2 separate regions of the Homo sapiens genome follow, and region 2 is linked to region 1. Evidence: promoter capture Hi-C in human tissues and cell types (Jung and others, 2019). All regions are on one chromosome and are shown on one strand. Each heading gives the region's core, a stretch centred on a gene start or on the middle of the fragment in contact. The rest is flanking DNA. Distances are from core to core; before and after follow the strand shown. Region 1 holds the start of PARK7 (Parkinsonism associated deglycase). Region 2 overlaps RERE (arginine-glutamic acid dipeptide repeats).

Region 1 (2,700 bases), core at 70-2,569:
CAGTGGATCAACAGGTATTTATTCTTATGTCATCTCTGAAATTTTGTGTATATTTGAAATATTTCATAGAGCACTTTGAATATTTTATTCAAAATGATTTAAAAATCCAAAAACATTTAAAACAGGAATGGCTAAAAATCGATGTGGGACTTACCCCAGCTCGCCTCATGACATCTACAGGGATGACCGTCTCCATTTCCTCTGCTCCTTTAGCCAGGATGACCAGAGCTCTTTTGGAAGCCATTTTTATGTTATATGTTTACAAGCCTTAAAAAAAAAAAAAAAAAAAGATTTCAAAAAACTTTCATTGCAACCCTGAGATACCCCAAAATTTAAAGTTTAGGAGCATTTTCAAGCAGAGTAAGTACTTCCTAGGGAAACGGTTTTCATAGACAACTGAATACGAAAAAAGCAGCAGTTTAGTTATCTTAACGTTGATTTGTATAGCAGTTTTAATTGCTCTGAGATGAAAACATAATGAGGGTGCTAAAAGGTGTAGTATTGCTTAGATTTTCTTCTACCATGTTCTCTTAAATCCAACTTTAATAGTATGTTGCAAATGGGTTTTTTAAAAATACAAGTACGTGGGTCTCCTGCATTTCACACAATGCGGGGAAACAGTCTTTTTTGAAGCACTGTTTCAGAGAAACGACTAAACTGAATTTCATGGGCAAAAATTTAAATGTGGTCTTTCGCAATTAACTTGTAATTTTTTGGAGGGGATTTTTGTTTTCTTAGTTATAACTGTACTAAAAAATTGTGTGTGGGGGTCAACAGTGTTAAATGTCTGAACACTTTTTTTAATGACTGAGAAAGATGGAAATCCCCTCACTGAAGTCAACCCAACTACATCTGTCTCTCTGCGCGGAGTTCTCACTGCCAACGACAGCAGCTCAACGAGGTTCCGAATTTTTTTTAGCCTATTTACAGATTATCTGGAGGGTTTACCGTCCACGCAAAACAGAGTTTAATAAAACGGCTAGCCAGTTCCATGCCGGCGAGAGGTTAGGCAGAAGATTCTGGACGCTTCAGCGTTGCCACCACGCTGGCGGTCAGTCAAATCCAACGCCAGCGACAGGGCCCGACTGGGAGGCCGGAAGCGAGGGCGGCCCCGACCCAGGCCCCGCGCCGGTTCTGAGCCAGCGGGACACCGTCCAGCACAGGGACACCGTCCAGCACCCCCACGCCGCCCAGCGCCACGGCCCACACATGCGCCGCGCCCCCGCTGGCGCTGACCTGCACCCCGCGCCTCTTCCTGCGGACGCGGCGCCCCGGCCCGTTGGGTACCACTCACCCCACACCAGGCTGAAAATGAACGCACGCCAGCACGCACGCGCGCCGTCCGGCCTCCCTCAGCCCCACACTGCGCAGACTCACGCCGCCTTGGCCTCACGCTGCGTCACGTCCGGCCGAGTCTACCTCGGACTGAGGCGGGGGTGGCACCGGGGAGTTTCTAGCTGGACAGCCCTGGGTGAGGCGGCTCGGTCCCACATGGTACCCCCCACGAATGGCACAGTCCGGCCTGCCCCGGCGCCCGCGGGGCTTAACAGTCTCTACCGCCACCCTCCGTGAGGAGCCGGTCTCTGGAACTGCCGAGGGACTGGGGTTGTCAGAGGGGTTCCTTAGTTCGCGCTCCGTGCACGCCTGCTCCCTTTGCGTTGTTCCTTTTCTGGCGCGCCTTCCCGTTTCGCCTCTGGTCTGTTAGGACTCTGGTCCAGGCCTCCCGGACCTCTCCCCCACGCCTGGTCTCCCGATCTCGGGCGACTCTGCCGCATTTATTCACACCCGGATGTCTCAGGGGTGTGAGTTTTTTTCTCAGCATTGTTTGTTTTCTTTAACGATCCTGATGCTGCTGCACCCACAGGACTAGAGCAGTGCTGCGCACATAAGTCTAATAAGTACCAAGTTGGTCAGATGTATTTACATCATAATCTCAAGTTGTATTTATTGATATGTAAGAGACGTATGTGTTTTCTGGGTACATGTGGTATTTTGATACTTTCATATAATGTGTAATGATTAAATCAGGGTAAATGAGATCTCTATCACCTTAAACATTTGTCTTTATACTGGGAACATTCCAGTTACTCTCTTCAATAATAACATTTTAAAATATACAACAGATTACTGTTAACTATAGTCACCCTACAGAACTCTGCCAACGCTAGGTCTTATTCCCTCTTAAGGAGAGCACAGATCACCTGGTGACCATCAAGCAGGCCCCTTATCTGAGGAATTTAGAAGTAATTAGATATCCCTATTATCTAAAGTTGGCACCTGGTACCAGGTTAAATCAAAGGAAATAGTTAAAGCCCAAAATTCTTGAATGAGCTTAGAAGGATCCTGGCTAAATGAACGCAACTTGGATTGAATTTGCAAAAAATGAGACATTCGAAAAGGGACATGAAAAATCCACCGCGGCATGCTCAGTTCTCTCTTGCTGAGGCTGCACTCTTCTGCAGCGTTCTAATAAAACTTTCCTTTTTCAAACCTATATTGTTGTCGATAAATTCTTCTTACCAACCAGCAAGTCGACCACTTTCTGATGCTGGGGCTCTTGACACCTTGCCCAGCACTTCTACCAATTTTTGTACCTATTAATCACCCTGTTCATCCCCTTCTCCTGGCTACCCTTCCTGGCCTCTGGTAACCACCAACTTATCTTCATGATATCCACTTTTCAACTTCCCATTTATGAGT
Region 2 (2,700 bases), core at 61-2,560, 550 kb before region 1:
CGCTGCCTCCCAGACTCAAGCAATTCTCCTGCCTCAGCCTCCTGAGTAGCTGGGACTACAGGCGCCTGCCACCACGCCCGGCTAAGTTTTGTATTTTTAGTAGTGTGGGGTTTCACCATGTTGTCCAGGCTGGTCTTGAACTCCTGACGTCAGGTGACCTGCCTGCCTCAGGTGAGCCACCACGCCCGGCCTGTTTGTTTTTTTAAAGACAGTCTAGCTCTGTTTTGCCCAGGCTGGAGTGCAGTGGTGTGATCATAGCTCACTGCAGCCTCAAACTCCAGAGCTCAAGTGATTCTCCTGGCTCAGCCTCCTGAGTAGGTGGGATTATAGGTGCGTGCCACCGTGACCAGCTAATTAAAAAAACATTTTTTATAAAGCCTGTTGCCCAGGCTGGTCTCAAACTCCTGAGCTCAAGCTGTCCTCTTGCCTCAGCGTCCCAGAGTGCTGGGATTCCAGGTGTGCACCACCACGTGTAGTGCTGTGTTGCTTTGAACACAGGATAGAAAGACACCTGAATTTCTGTGAATAGCAATACTAACATGTCTGTTAATATCAAAACATGAATTAAATGCCTTAATACCTAGAAATGAGATAATACTGTAGAGCACCTAGGACAGATAGTAAGTGCTGAAATGTTAGCTACTGTTGTTATTCATCAAAGAAGAAAGCTGGAGTCTTCTAGATGAATTTTAGCCTCCAGCACTTGCTGAAGTTCAGAATGTGCCATAATCAGTGCTTCTCAGAGCATAGCTTGTGGACCTCATTATTATTATTATTATTTCTCTTTTCTTTTCTTGTCTTGTCTTTTCTTTCTTTTCTTTTCTTTCTTTTTTTTTGAGGCGGAGTTTCATTCTTTTTTTGCCCAGGCTGGAGTGCAATGGTGTGACCTCAGCTCACTGTAACCTCTGCCTCCCGGGTTCAAGCAGTTCTCCTGCCTGAGCCTCCCGAGTAGCTAGGATTCAGGCACACACCACCCGGTATGGCTAATTTTGTGTTTTTAGTAGGGATGGGGTTTCACCATGTTGACTAGGCTGGTTTCGAACTCCTGACCTCAGGTGATCCACCTGCCTCGGCCTCCCAAAATGCTGTGATTACAGGCGTGAGCCACCTCGCCCAGCCTATTAGTATTTTTTAATCCCAAGACTTGGCTTCCCGACTTAAAAGTCTTCTGCCCTATACCAAAAGACAGTGATTGTCTTGAGGAGAAGCCTTGGTTCCGTCGAGACATTTGAGTTAGAAGCGAAGCTAGCCACTTTTTTCATGGAATATCAGTTACTCTTTGAAAGAACAACTGACAGACAAACTGTGGTCATTCAGACGTGGGCATTTGGCAGAAACTTTCTTGAAGATGAATTAAGTGAGCTTGTTATTTCAAGGAAAACACTGATACTATTTGACAAGGCTAAGATTTGAACTTTCAAGTAAAAATTAGAATTTCGAAAAGCTTGTACTCACCACTCTGAGCCTGACAGCTTCTCTACACTGAAAGGCATTTCTTATGAGATAGGTGATATTAATATGATTTTTAAAAAATGCTGTATAAAGAACTGGTTGATATTTGAAAGATCTGCAGAACTGAGTAAACTGACATTCTCTATAAAACCAATGCATGACATTACAAAATCACATCTGAGTAGAAGATCCATTCATTCAAAGGCAAGACAGACCAATGGATTTCAGAGTAGCACAGTCAAAAGACTATTGATAGGCTTTTAGACTCACCTTGTGTACACATCTTTAAGAAATGATTACTTGTTGAGTTTTTGTTTTGTTTTGTTTTGTTTTTGAGACAGAGTTTCGCTCTTGTTGCCCAGGCTGGAGTACAATGGCACGATGTTGGCTCACTGCAACCTCTGCCTCCCAGGTTCAAGCAATTCTGCTGCCTCAGGCTCCTGAGTATCTGGGATTGCAAGCATGCAACACCACACCCGGCTAATTTTTTGTATTTTTAGTCGAGACAGGGTTTCACTATGTTGGCCAGGCTAGTCTCGAACTCTTGACCTCAAGTGATCCTCCCACCTCGGCCCCCCAGAGTGCCGGGAACTTGTTGAGTTTTTGGTGTAGTATCAAAAAGGCTATATTCTTCCCTTTTCTAGTTACATCACTGTGTTAGGCTGTATTATCTTCATATAATTTAACCACAACAATATATTGCAGCAGATTGAATTCAAAAGTAGATAGGAGAATCTAGCTGTCTTTTCTATTAAGTCAAATATTAATGAGATTTGCAAAAACATAAAATAATGCCTCACTTTTTACTAAAGGTTTCTGCTTAAATGCAATTACTTTTTATAAGAATATGTATATTGTTATGTAATGGGCTTATTGCTATTTTTAAATCAATATTTTGAAAGTTTTCAAAAATTTAGATTTCTTGGGATGTTCAGTAATTTTTATTTTTATTTTTTGTAATAAGCTTTATTTCTGTTTTGTCCACGGCTTGGGAGAGGGGTCCAGGGTAGTGGCTGGAGGCGCTGCTTAGGCAGTAGCCCTGAACTTTGAGAGGGGCTCCTAAAAGTTTGCTGGGCTCTGTAGGCTCCTCGTGGTGCTTGAGGGTGAGTCTTTTGGAAGAAACATTTACCCAGCCCAGCCTGGGGAGGTTGGTCTGGTAGTCGCCGATCTTGTTGTTGAGTTTCACCTCCTCATCTAGGAAGTGGCTCTCCGGAAGTCACAGAAGATGGGGGTCTGTGCAGGCAGAAC

What was found. The method cuts DNA at HindIII sites, captures the fragments that hold promoters and counts their contacts. A contact is called where the count stands out against the background at its distance.
Region 2: a contact is called between a fragment that was not itself captured here and the fragment with the promoter of PARK7 in region 1, in 1 of the 25 tissues and cell types used here (dorsolateral prefrontal cortex).

Annotation. Positions count from the first base shown.
Region 1 is chr1:7,960,330-7,963,029 of GRCh38, reverse strand. It overlaps PARK7 (Parkinsonism associated deglycase), which reads right to left and starts at 1,319. Exons shown (of 7, transcript NM_007262.5): 1 at 1,237-1,319; 2 at 155-267. The coding sequence starts at 244. RefSeq lists enhancers at 879-938, 989-1,038, 1,239-1,288, 684-1,467, 1,669-1,768 and 1 more and a silencer at 1,419-1,518. The HindIII fragment of the contact is 29,789 bases long and covers 1-2,700 here.
Region 2 is chr1:8,512,867-8,515,566 of GRCh38, reverse strand. All of the region lies in intron 7 of RERE (arginine-glutamic acid dipeptide repeats), which reads left to right. Among named protein-coding and RNA genes, the nearest start is that of SNORD128, 19 kb to the right of the region's middle. The HindIII fragment of the contact is 5,560 bases long and covers 1-2,700 here.